Regions from separate parts of the Homo sapiens genome. Here region 2 is linked to region 1. The links are contacts of gene promoters, found by promoter capture Hi-C in human tissues and cell types (Jung and others, 2019). All regions are on one chromosome and are shown on one strand. The core of a region is centred on a gene start or on the middle of the fragment in contact, and the rest is flanking DNA. Distances in the headings are between cores, read along the strand shown. Region 1 holds the start of MUC17 (mucin 17, cell surface associated). Region 2 has its middle 20 kb from the start of LNCPRESS1.

Region 1 (6,534 bases), core at 1,455-3,954:
GAGTGCAGTAGTGCAATCACAGCTCACTGCAGCCTCGACCTCCCAGGCTCAAGCAGTCCTCCCACCTCAGCCTCCCAGGTAGGTGGGACACAGGCGTGTACCACCATTTCCAGCTAATTTATTGTAGAGATGGGGTCTTGCTATGTTGCCCAGGATGGTCTCAAACTCCTAGGCTCAAGTGATCCTTCCAACTTGGCCTCCCAATATGCCTGGATTATAGGCATGAGCCACTGCACCTGGCCTGGGAGGAGAGCCTTGTTGATGGGAGTAGGGAGCTGGGGTAGACATTTGAAGTTTCCTTAGAATCTCTCAGGAGGGTACTGGGTGCAGTGGCTCACGCCTGTAATCCCAGCACTTTGGGAAGCAGAGGCAGGTGGATCACCTGAGATTCCGAGTTCAAGACCACCCTCGCCAACATGGCGAAACCCCGTCTCTACTAAAAATACACAAATTAGCTGGGTACAGTAGCGTGCATCCGTAATCCCAGCTACTCGGGAGGCTGAGGCAGGAGAATTGCTTGAACCTGGGAGGTGGAGGTTGCAGTGAGCTGAGATGGCGCCACCGCACTCCAGCCTGGGAGATAGACTGAGACTCCTCCTCAAAAAAAAAAAAAAAAAAAAATCTCTCGGGAGGAGGACAAGAGTGGGATGGTGATGGAAGTGCTAGATGGGGACAGAGCCCTAGACAGGGATGGGGGGAGGGCAAAGGGATACCTGCCATGGACAGGTGACTGAGCACCCAAGCCTTGGTGGCCCTCATGCTGGGTGTAGGGATGAGAGGGCATCTGTGATGGCAGGGCCGGGCTGGGCAAACAGACAGGACATTGTGTTTTGTTGACAAGCAATATAACCAGGTGATCTGCAGGATGAGAGGGTGTGTCTGCTGGGAAGGACCAGGCTGAGGCCACTGCAGCTCTCTCTCTAGACCCACGCCCTGCCCTGGTATCCCCAGCCCCATGACTTCAGCAGGGGTGAGGCTCTGGGTCCCTGGAGAAGGGACATGGAAAGGGTCAGAGGCTGCCCAAAGCTGGCCAGGGTCCCAAAGGACAGCCAATGCCAGGCACAGAGACGGAGGAGCCACAGAATCCTGGAGAGTAGGAACAGGGTCTGAGAAGTCACATTCTACAAAGGCAGACTGAGGCTAGGGATGAAATCAATGATAACACGCAGAAAGTGGGGAGAGGCCAGGAAGGGGCCAAGGAGAGGTGGGGAGAAGAAGAAAGAGAAGAGAGGGGGAAGGAAGGGGCTAGAAGAACCCAGGAAGAGGGAAGGGAGGAGCAGAGAGAAAGAAAGGAGGGGGCCAGGAGCGGTGGCTCACCCCTGTAATCCCAGCACTTTGGGAGCCCAAGGTGGGAGGACTACCTGAGATCAGGAGTTTGAGACCAGCCCGGTTAACATGGTGAAACCCTGTCCTTACTAAAAATATACAAAATCTAGCTGGGCATGGTGGCATGTGGCTGTAATCCCAGCTACTCAAGAGCCTGAGGCGGGAGAATCGCTTGAACCCGGGAGGCAGAGGTTGCAGTGGGCTGACATCACGCTACAGAACTCCAGCCTGGGTGACAGAGCGAGGCTCCGTCTCAAAAAAAAAAAAAAAAAAAAAAGGAGGAGACAGAGGTGAGGGTTGGGGAGGAAAACAAAAGATCATGTCTAAGATGCTGTTATTAGAGATACATCACCAAGGGTCTGGAAGGCACAGAAAGTGCAAGGAAAGGAGTGTTTTCATTACAACGAATGGGCTGGCAGATCTGGGTGAGATTGCCACAGGGTGACATCTCGAGGGGCAGGGACCCTGAGGTCTATGGGTCCAGTTTCTGTCTTGGTTCCCCTGCGCCCTTCTCTGGGGGCAGGTGAGGGGCAGAGGGAGCTCCCAGAGAGTCCAGCTGGAACCCACTGTCATCCCTCCTGCTCTGAGCCCCCCGGGGTCCCTGTGGCCATGAAGCCCAAAGCGGCTGAGCTGGAATGATCCTCAGAGGTCCTAATGCCTTGTCTTTTGGGGAGACTGAGGCAGGAGATGAACTGAGCGGCCCCAGGGTGCACAGCTGGTTCATGGCAGGATTAGAATCTGGGGCTCCTGAAACGCCATTTTGTGCCCATGTGGCTATGTCCCGGAAACATTCCTGGGGCACACAGCAGGGTGTGCTGGTGTGGGAGGTGACAGGGACTTGGCGGGAACATTCACTGGGTAAGGATAGACTCTAATATGGGTTGAACACCAGTCTTGTGCCAGGGATCATGCCTCGGGGGGGGAGCTCTTTTCAATCCTAGCAGCTGCCCTGAAAAGCAGGTGTTATTATTCTTACTTTCCGGAGGGGAGACTGAGGCTCGGAAGGGGAAACTAAGGCTCAGAGACCTCAACTGGAAGAGGCTCCAATGCCCTGGCTCTTCCCCCAAAGCTCGCTGGGGAGAGAAGAGAAGTCCAGGGGGTAGGCACAGGGCTGAGCTCCAGGCAGAGGGCACACCCCTATTGGTGTCCTGGAGGCAGCTCTCCCTCGGGGATGGGCAGACAGAGCAGGCTGGCCCCTGGGATGGGGGCCTCTTGGGCAGCGGGGCGTGGGGGTCACTCACCCTGTTCTGCAGCAGCTTGTGGGGGCAAGAGCGAGAGGACCAAGGTCAGCAGACACAGCGCCATGGTCCCTGGCCTTGGCATCGGAGCTCTGAGCACGTCTCACTTGCCTGTCACCCCCAGAGGAGCTGGCGAAATGAGCCTCAGAGAAGGAAACTGATAAATAAATGGGTGCCAGAGACCTTTGGTCCCTGAGACACTGGGGATCAGGGGCCAGCCTGAGCCTGAGTCAGTCTGGAAGCTTCCCTCATGACTTGGGGCGCAGGGCCTGTTTCAGGCCAAAGGGCAGAGGGAGGGGGTGCCTCTCCCTGGCCCGGCAGCCCATAGGCATGAGGGTTATCAGCTTTATCACCCCAACAGAGGGGCAGCCCAGAGGGCCTGTAGGAGCCAGGGGGGAACTGATGAGATCCCCCGACCGAGGGTGGTGGGAGATGGGCAAGAGGGACTGGGCCTGAGCTGGGAAAGGAGGAGGGTACCACCTGCATTTGACCCTAACCCCTAGCAGGGACACCCCCTTTGTCTCTTTTCTAACCCTTCTTATTGGCCGGGTATGGTGGCTCACACCTGTAATCCCAGCACTTTGGGAGGCTGACGCGGGAAGATCACTTGAGATGAGGAGTTTGAGACCAACCTGGCCAACATGATGAAACACCATCTCTACTAAAAATACAAAAATCAGCCAGACTTGGTGGCGGGCGCCTGTAATCCCAGCTACTCAGGAGGCTGAGGCAGGAGAATCGCTTGAACCTGGGAGGCGGAGGTTGCAGAGAGCCAAGATCGTGCCTCCGTACTCCAGCCTGGGCAACAGAGCAAGACTCTGTCTCGGCAAAAATAAATAAATAAAATAACCCTTCTTATTGTCCTATGAGTATGCCCTGAAGACATGGCCATGCCTGGGCAGGGAGTTCTTGGGTTTGGTCTGTGGGTTCCGAGGTAAGCACAGCTCCCATGGCCATCTGGAGTGACCCTGCCTTGTGCAAGCTCAGCAGAGCCAAGTGCTCACTCCCTGGCCAACTGGGGTTGAATCTGAGGTCCTCTCCTGTCCCCAGAACCTGACATTAGGCTTTTCTGCCACAGGGACCTCAGCAGAGGCAGGCCTAGACCTGTCCTGACTGGAGCCGGGGAGGGGGCTCCCTGCAAAGACACAGGAAGGGGCCCAGAGCATTCGTTCCATGCCCCATTCAGCAGCCAGTCCTGGGAGAAATCCCATCCCAGGAGGGCTCTGACCCCTAACCTGACCCCAACTGCAGAAGGAGGAGAAGGAAACCTCTCACTTCTCATTCTGAGCTTTCAGATTTGCTTTTATTGGTAGGGAAATTCCAGAGTGGGGAGCCACCCAGGAGGAGACAGGGGTGCCGAGGCTTCTGGGAGTCTGGAAGCTCCCGGATGGAGAGGCTTACAGCCCCCAGCCTTCCCCAGCAGGAGCACAGGCAGGGGACTGGCCAAGTCTGTCAGCTCAGAGCAGGACCGGCTTCAGGGCCTGACTTCGGTCTCCTCTTGACCCGCCCCGGAGGCTTGTGGTGGGCTCTGTGTTTGCAGCTCTCCTGAACAGAGCTAGATGAGGGTGGGAGGCCCCCGTTGGCTCACACAGTGGATGCTACCATCTCCGGCCTCTGGATGTGGAGCTGGGGGACGGGAGAGAAGAGGTGAGGCCAAGGGGCAGACCCGGGAAAGGGGGAGCCCCAGGAGGAAGAGGGAGCCCTGGCGGGGAGGAGGGAACCCCAGGGGGAGGGAGGGAGTCCCAGGGGGAGGGAGGGAGTCCTAGGGAGAGGAGGGAGTGGCGGGGGAGGGGGGAGTCCCAGGGGAAGGGGTGGCCCCAGGGTGAGGAGGGAGTCCTGGGGGAGGAGGGAGTCCCAGGAGAAGGGAGGGAGTCCTAGGGGGAGAAGGGAGTCCCAGGGGTAGGGAGAGTGTCCCAGGGAGAGGGAGGGAGTCCTAAGGAGAGGAGGGAGTCCTGGGGGAGGAGGGAGTCCCGGGGGAAGGGAGGGAGTCCCGGGGGAAGGGAAGGGGTCCCAGGGGGAGGGAGGGAGTCCCAGGGGGAAGGGAAGGGGTCCCAGGGGGAGGGGAGGGAGTCCCAGGGGGAAGGGGAAGGGGTCCCAGGGGGAGGGAGGGAATCCAGGGGGGAAGGGAGGGGTCCCAGGGGGAGGGAGGGAGTCCCAGGGGGAAGGGAAGGGGTCCCAGGGGGAGGGAGGGAGTCCCAGGGGGAAGGGAAGGGGTCCCAGGGGGAGGGAGGGAGTCCCAGGGGGAAGGGAAGGGGTCCCAGGGGGAGGGAGGGAATCCCAGGGGGAAGGGAAGGGGTCCCAGGGGGAGGGAGGGAGTCCCAGGGGGAAGGGAAGGGGTCCCAGGGGGAGGGAGGGAGTCCCAGGGGGAAAGGAAGGGGTCCCAGGGGGAGGAAGGGAGTCCCAGGGGGAAGGGAAAGGGAAGGGGTCCCAGGGGGAAGGGAGGGAGTCCCAGGGGGAGAAGGGAGTCCCAGGGGGAGAAGGGAGTCCCGGGGGAAGAGGGAACCCCAGAGGAAGTGGAGCAGCCTCAGGGGGTGGGGGCAGCTCGCAGCTGAGTCACCTCTGTGCCAGAGTCAACAGTCTCCAGGGTGGGCCGGAAGTTGTTGTAGGCGTTCTCAAGGCCGAATCTGCTCTCCCTCAGATTCTGGTCTGTAGGGAGAGGCCGTGATGAGTGATGGGAGCCTTGGTAGGGGGAGGACTAGGGGGCAGAGGGGATTTCCTCTGGCAAAAGGAAGAGTCAGCCCGGCATCTGCCCTACGCCCTTTCCCACTGCCGACCACCCCTCCGACCCTGCATCACTGGGCTGCGGGTAAGTGCAGAGCCTGCCTGGGGAGCCGCCCGCTGGACCCCGGAACAGGAGGGAGCGGAGCAGAAGCCCCCCACATGCACGGGGTGGAAGCGGGGGCCACGGAGGAGCGTGCGTTCAGCCCTGGACTCAGGGGTGAGGTCAGAGTGGAGCGGGAGACAGGGCTGGCTCTGGGTCAGCAGGGCCGCCCTCCTTCATAGCAACGGTAACCATAGCAGGCAAAAAAGCTGCGTCTGGAATCTTCTTCCAGCATCCTCCCGGAGCACAGCGATCACTTACTTCCTGGTCCCGCAGAACCACTCACTCTCTGGACTCCGGGGCTCTCCCTGCACCTCTGACCCCTCTTTTCCTGCGTCCTCCTAGATCGGGGTCCTCATGCCCTACCTGTCCTTCTACGGGGGCTCCTGGGGGGGGGTTCTCCTTTCACCCTCCTCACTTCTCACTCTGCATTCTCCCCGATGAATGGACAAACCTCTATTCCAGTACGTGGTTCAGGCTGCAGACCCCTCCCGGAGATTCAGACAGGCACGAGCCTTGCAGCCTCCTCCTCAGCACCCACCAGCCCCCCAACTCAGTGTGCTCCACCGGCTGCTTCTCCCCCATCCTTCGGGGCCCAAGGGTCAGCTCGGACAATCCCGGAAATCCTCCCTCACTCCCTCTCCCTCTCCCACCCACTCAGCCTCATCTCCACCAGGCTGCGTCTCCTCTCCCTCCCCCCACCCCCTCAGCCTCACTTCCTCCACCTGGTCTCCCTGCTTTAGTGCTCCCTGAATGGCCTTTTGAGTAAAAAAAATTCAAAATGTGACCGGGCATGGTGGTTCACGCCTGTAATCCCAGCACTTTGGGAGGCCAAGGCGGGCGGATCACCTAAGGTCTGGAGTTCGAGACCAGCCTGGCCAACATGATGAAACCCTGTCTCTACAGTCTCTACTAAAAATACAAAAATTAGCCACGCGTGGTGGCATGCCTGTAATCACAGCTACTAGGGAGGCTGAGGGCAGGAGAATCGCTTGAACCTGGGAGACAGAAGTTGCAGTGAGCCAAGATTGTGCCACTGTACTCCAGCCTGGGTGACAGAGTGAGACTCTGTCTCACAAAAAAAGGTGGGCGGCCAAAGCCCCTCAACCCCCCACCCCATTCCCAAAGCCCTGCCAACCTCACGTCCCT
Region 2 (6,534 bases), core at 1,902-4,401, 260 kb before region 1:
CGTTGGCCCCAAAGCTGGAAACCGCAGCTCTGGCACCTGGTGCTGGCAGCTCCCACTCGGATCACCCTTAGTCGCTCCTAGCTTTCCTGCTCACTGCTCAGTGCGCCTCTTGGAAACCTTGGTTCATGAGGGAAAAAAGACAGAACTCACATGCTCACTCTTGCATCGTTCTGCCCGAATTTGGCAAATCTCTGGACAGCTCTGCCCTTGTGTTGCAGCCTCCAGCTTCACAGGCCATCGCCCCCAGCCTCACACTCTTCACCAATATCCCATCATTGCCCAGGACCCATAAGGCCTGTCGGGCCCAGGATGCCCTGGTCCAGCTTCCAGCCTCCTTCCCTGCCGCCTGCCACCCCACAGCCTCTGTTTTTGGACAGCAGTGGGCTTATGTCAGCTGCGATTACGATCACTCACCTCTGCCACCCACAGACCTTCCTGCGTACAGCTTTTTCTTTTGTTTTTTTGTTTTGTTTTTGTTTTGAGATGGAGTCTTGCTCTGTTGCCCAGGCTGGAGTGCAATGGTGTAATCTCGCCTCACTGCAACCTCTGCCTCCTGGGTTCAAGCGATTCTCGTGCCTCAGCCAAGTAGCTGGGATTACAGGCACCCACCACCATGCCTGGCTGATTGTTTTTTTGTTTGTTTGTTTGTTTTGGAGACAGATTCTCGCCCTGTCGCCAGGCTGGAGTGCAGTGCAGTGGTGCGATCTCAGCTCACTGCAACCTCCGCCTCCCAGGTTCAAGCGATTCTCCTGCCTCAGCTTCCCGAGTATTTGGGACTACAGGCATGCGCCACCATGCCCAACTAATTTTTGTATTTTTAGTAGAGATGGGGTTTCACCACCTTGGCCAGGCTGGTCGCGAACTCCTGACCTCAGGTGATACACCAGCCTCCACCTCCCAAAGTGCTGGGATTACAGGCGTGAGCCGTCGCGCCCGGCCAGAATTTGGCGAACCTTTGGACAGCTCTCCCCTTGTGTTGCAGCCTCGGGCTTCACGGGTCATCACCCCCAGCTTCACACCCTTCACCGGTTTCCCATCATTGCCTAGGACCCAGTCTGAACTCCTTATAAGGCCTGTTGGGCCCCGGATGCCCTGGTCTCGCTTCCGGCCTTTTTCCTTGCCACCCGCCACCCCACATACTGTTACCAGACAGCACTGGGCTCATGTCAGCTGCGTTTGCGATCACTCAGCTCTGCCACCAGCAGACCCTCCTGCATGCACCTTTCCAGAAGGCTCTTCCCAGCATTTTCTTTCTTTCTTTCTTTCTCTTTCTTTCTTTCTTTCTTTCTTTCTTTCTTTCTTTCTTTCTTTCTTTCTTTCTTCCTTCCTTCCTTCCTTCCTTCCTTCCTTCCTTCCTTTCTTCCTTCCTTCCTTCTTTCCTTTTTTCTTTTCTTTTCTTTTCTCTTAAAAAAAATGGAGTCTCACTCTGTGGCCCAGGCTGAAGGGCAGAGTGGCACAATCTCTGCTCACTGCAACCTCTGCCTCCCAGGTTCAAGCGATTCTCCTGCCTCAGCCTCCTGAGTAGCTGGTACTACAGGTGTGCGCCACCACACCCAGCTAATTTTTGTATTTTTAGTGAAGACGGGGTTTCACCATGTTGGCCAGGATTGTCTCGATCTCGATCTCATGATCTGCCCGCCTCGGCCTTCCAAAGTGCTGGGATTACAGGCATGAGCCACCCCACCTGGCCTTCCCAGCCTTTCATAAGGAGTTATCTCTTCCCAGAAGTCTCCCTCCACGCTGCGAGTCTGTGTTATGTCATTCTCTGAGCTTCCATGGGGCCCAATGAGCCCCTGTCACACCACTTAGCGTGCTGGAGTGCCTGCCTGCCTTCTCAGATGGAAGCCCCATGAGGGTAAGCACGTGTCAGCCTCACGCATGCATATCCCCAGCACCTCGACGCTGTGCTTGGCACCCCATAGGGCTCAGTAAGGATTTTACTAAATATGGCCAGGTACAGTGGCTCACACCTGTAATCTCAGCACTTTGGGAGGCCATGGTGGGAGGATCGCTTGAGGCCAGAAGTTTGAGACCAGCCTGGGCAACATAGTGAGACCCCATCTCTTCAAAATATTAAAAACTTAGCTAAGTGTGGTGGCGTGGCCTGTAGTCCTAGCTACTCAGGAGGCCAAGGGTGGGACAGTCGCTTGAACCCAGGAGCTCAAGGGTGCAGTGAGCTATGATTGTGCCACTGTACTCCAGCCAGGCTGACAGAACGAGATCCTGTTGCTGCAAAAAACTGACTAAATGTGTGAATGAAGGAATGAATGTGTTCACTGTTCCCTGAGGAGGGTCTGCAAAAGCCAGTACATGTCCTTCCACCCCCTTTCCTCCCTGTTCACTGGGTGCCTCTCATTGTCTCCCAAGCCTCTGCAGACACATCCCAGGGAACAGTGCTGCTGAAGGACTAGTTCTGTTCCTTGTGATGGTGGAAAGAAATGGGATTTGGGCCAGGCACGGTGGCACACACCTGTAATCCTAACACTTTAGGAGGCTGAGGCAGGAGGATTGCTTGAGGCCAGGAGTTTGAGGCCAGCCTGGGAAACATAGTAAGACCCCCATCTCTACAAAAAACAAAGATTAGCCAGGTGTGGTGGTGCATGCCTGTAATCCCAGCTGCTCGGGAAGCTGAGGCAGGAGGATAGCTTGAACCCAGAAGGTTGAAGCTGCAGTGAGCCGTGATCACGCCAGTGCACTCCAGCCTGGGTGACAGAGTGAGACCCTGTCTCTAAAAAATTAAAAAAAAAAAAGAGGCCAGGCACAGTGGCTCATGCCTGTAATCCCAGCACTTTGGGAGGCCGAAGCGGGTGGATCATGAGGGTCAGGAGTTTGAGACCAGCCTGGACAATATGGTGAAACCCGTCTCTACTAAAAATACAAAAATTAGCCAGGCTTGGTGGCACACACCTGTAAGCCAAGCTACTTGGGAGGCTGAGGCAGGAGAATCCTTCAACCCAGGAGGCGGAGGTTGCAGTGAGCCAAGATCACGCCACTGCACTCCAGCCTGGGTGACAGAGCAAGACTCCATCTCAGAAAAAAATAAAAATTAAAAATAAATAAATAAATAAGAGAAATGGGATTTGGAGTGAGGCCAACCCAGTCTCAGTACCGACTCTACCACTTACCAGCTGTACATGTGCCTTATTTTCTCCATTTGCAAAGTGCAGAAAACAGGACCAAGCTTGCAGGGTTGCTGTGAGACATCGCCTGCCAGCCTGACACGTGGTAGGCAGTCATTAGATCAGGGTCTTCCTCCCTCTTTCCCAGAGCCCCCACCTAAGCTCCCTCCCCTCTGGAACCTTGGGACACACACACACCTGTAATCTGAAATAGCAGCTGCTACTTCCCTGACCCTCCTCTGACCCCCAAGGTTGCCCTGTCCTCTATCCCCCCACAGAGTAGTGCCAGGCACAGAACAGATGCTCCAAAGATATGAAAAGAATGAAGGAATGAACGAAGCAGCCACCACCACAGTTTCTCATGGGGCGTGTTCCCCAGAGGCCACGAGCCTCTTTTTTTTTTTTTTTGAGACAGATTCTCACTCTGTCACCCAGGCTGGAGTGCAGTGGTGTGATCTCGGCTCACTGCAACCTCCGCCTCTGCCTCCTGGGTTCAAGTGATTCTCCTGCTTCAGCCTCCCAAGTATCTGGGACTACAGGCACACACCACCATGCATGGCTAATTTTTGTATTTTTAGTAGAGACGGGGTTTCAACATGTTGGCCAGGCTGGTCTGGAACACCTGGCCTCAGGTGATCTGCCCGCCTCAGCCTCCCAAAATGCTGGATTACAGGCGTGAGCCACGGCGCCTGGCCTGGGCCTGGATTCTTGTACATGGCATTAGGGCACCCCTGTGAGTTGCCCCAAGGATCACATGTGCACGACTGTGTCATCTGAGCAAACTCCCCCAAAGGGTGTCTGCATTCCCCACAGCCATTGCTGGTGCTAACAGGACAAGTTCCAAAAAAGAAAAGCTTTTAAAAATGTTTTATTGATTTATGTTTGATTTTTGGTAGAGATGGGGTCTTGCTATGTTGCCCAGGCTTGTCTTGAACTCCTGGCCTCAAGTGATTCCCCTGCCCCGCCGCACCTCAGCCTCCCAAAGTTCTGGGATTACAGGTGCGAGCCACAGTGCCCAGCCTGAAATCACTTTCTAAATTTGCCCTTTTCATCATGTTTTCCTCTTGTAACCGTTTTATGTCACGTGTACCCTGAGGCCCCCTGACAGCCCCCCTTGGGTCCCCTCTGCAGCCTCTTGTGTTATATGTGATCGGAGCACCCCCAGAGCTTCGTCATCCGTGACGAGCACCCGCCCTCTCTCCAGTGGGAATCATCAGCTGATGAATAAGGGCTGATTTCTTCTCAAATGATCACCACCCCCAATTCATTACATTCCAAAGACTGAGCTCAGAATGGCTTATCTGATGCTTGGTGCGGTTGTGCTTTTTTGGAACGCCGTTCATTGAGGACGCAGGTTCTCTCCCGTGTGATGCTCTTGGGCGCAAGCTGTGACGTGGGTTCCACGCTATTCTGTGCCACGTCCTCCCCTGTGATTTTCGCATCTCCGATAACTGCTTGCCTCCGTCTGAGGATTTTCCTCCGCTGGTGCCATTCATTGGGAGTCTCTCTAGTATGAATTATGAGATGAATGGAAATTTTCCCTCATTCATAATATTCAAAGCTTTCCTCTGCCCTGTGAATTCTTTGATATTCTTCCAGAATCCTGACCAAATATTTTGCCATGTGTATCGGGCCAGTAGAGTTTAGGCTTAGAGTCTGCAATTTCCCCAAAGTGGTAACTTTCTTTTTTTTTAAGAGATGGGGTCTTGCTCTGTTGCCCAGGCTGGAATGCAGTGGCATGATTATAATTCACTGCAGCCTTGACCTCCTGGGCTCAAGTGATCCTCCCATCTCAGCTTCCTGAGTAGCTGGGACTACAGGCACACATCACCATACCTGGCTAATTTTTTTTTTTTTTTGAGACGGAGTCTTGCTCTGTCTCCCAGGCTGGAGTGCAGTGGCATGAACTCGGCTCACTACAACCTCCACCTCCCGGGTTCAAGCGATTCTCCTCCTGCCTCAGCCTCCCAAGTAGCTGGGACTACAGGTGCGTACCACTATGCCCAGGTAATTTTTTGTATGTTTAGTAGAGATGGGGTTTCACCATGTTAGCCAGGATGGTCTCGATCTCCTGACCTCAAGATCCGCCCGCCTTGGCCTCCCAAAATGCTGGGATTACAGGTGTCAGCCACCGCGCCCGGCCCCATTGAGGAATTTTAAAATTCCATTTGCTGGAAGAACCAGCCCGTTTTCTGTCTGTTACATGGCTATCTTGAAATAGTCCTGCCTGGAATTGCTTGAACCTGGGAGATGGAGGTTGCAGTGAGCTGAGATCGTGCCACTGCACTCCAGCCTGGGTGATAGAGCGAGACTCCGTCTCAAAAAAAAAAAAAAAAGAAAGAAAGGAAAAAGAATAAGAAAGAAATAGTCCTACCTCCACAGTCCCTTCTTCAGCCTGTCAAAGCCAAAAAGTTTCCCAAGATCCTAAGTCTAGTAGGCAAGAAACACTTCCAATCCCTATTAAAGCCATGTTCATGAGGGAACTCAAGTTTTCTACCCACAGGCACTGGAATTTCTGCTGTGGGAACTGGGGGACGTTCTCGAGCCATGGAAGCCTTGAGGCCGTTCGGACTCAAGAATGTGATGATGCCCTCAGTTTCGTGAGTCTTGTATTCTGGTTTATTTCTGCTCCACTATGTCTGAGGCCTCCTGTTCTCGCAGCAGCTATTGGGGCTGAAATGTCCAAAGTGGCTTTTGCAGTCACGTGACTGGTGCCTCATGTTCTTCCACTTGGTCTCTCTTCCCGACAGAGCAGCCTTGTTGTCTAGTACAGTTATTGGGCTCTGAGAACCCTCTATGGATGCCCTAGGCCATTGCACCATCACCTGTGCTACCCCTGGCCCCTCCATGGAAACCGCTGCCCAGGCAGCTGTGTGACACCATGTGACCCTGCCTCTCTTCCACCCACCAAGTCCCCAAATATACAGTTCACTGGACCAGGATCCCATATAGGCTGGCCAATGATTTTTGAAGTCATCTGGCTCAAAAATTTAGGGAAGTCACCCAGGCCAGCCAATTCCCTTTTGGAAACTGGGGCGGAAAAAGCAGACAGTAGAATTAGTAAGCCACAAGATGTCCTGAGGGCAAGTAGGGCCTGGTCGGACCAGTGTGCTGGCCGAAATTACACTGGAGAAGAAACTTGGCCGTTGAAGCAAAACCAAAATCAGCTATACCATGGAGAAAATCCCCTCATTGTGGAGGGAAAATGAGCTTGGCTTTGGCAAGAGGATAAAGGAGGAGAGGGTGACAACAGAGTTGGGACTCCACAAAAGGCCGAGACAAGCCAACCCTGGGCTGCCTTCTGCCTGTGGGTGTCACTGCTGCCAGTTTGCCGCTCGTTCCCTTGGCTGTCAGTTGGCTTAAAAGTGGGCAGATGACTTAGCTGTGCTGGTGAAACATATGGGGATTCCCGGCC

What was found. Contacts are between HindIII fragments. The study calls those that stand out against the background at their distance.
Region 2: a contact is called between a fragment that was not itself captured here and the fragment with the promoter of MUC17 in region 1, in 4 of the 25 tissues and cell types used here (IMR-90 fibroblasts, bladder, heart left ventricle and 1 more).

Annotation. Positions count from the first base shown.
Region 1 is chr7:101,016,251-101,022,784 of GRCh38, reverse strand. MUC17 (mucin 17, cell surface associated) reads right to left here and starts at 2,704. Exons shown (of 13, transcript NM_001040105.2): 1 at 2,568-2,704. The coding sequence starts at 2,649. MUC12 (mucin 12, cell surface associated) reads right to left here. Exons shown (of 12, transcript NM_001164462.2): 11 at 5,122-5,210; 12 at 3,849-4,190. The coding sequence ends at 4,149. It overlaps MUC12-AS1 (MUC12 antisense RNA 1), which reads left to right and starts at 5,177. Exons shown (of 3, transcript NR_120520.1): 1 at 5,177-5,370. RefSeq lists enhancers at 3,804-3,953, 5,144-5,293, 5,364-5,413 and a silencer at 4,003-4,297. The HindIII fragment of the contact is 20,706 bases long and covers 1-5,225 here.
Region 2 is chr7:101,276,612-101,283,145 of GRCh38, reverse strand. No RefSeq gene overlaps it. Among named protein-coding and RNA genes, the nearest start is that of LNCPRESS1, 20 kb to the left of the region's middle. The HindIII fragment of the contact is 6,351 bases long and covers 1-6,326 here.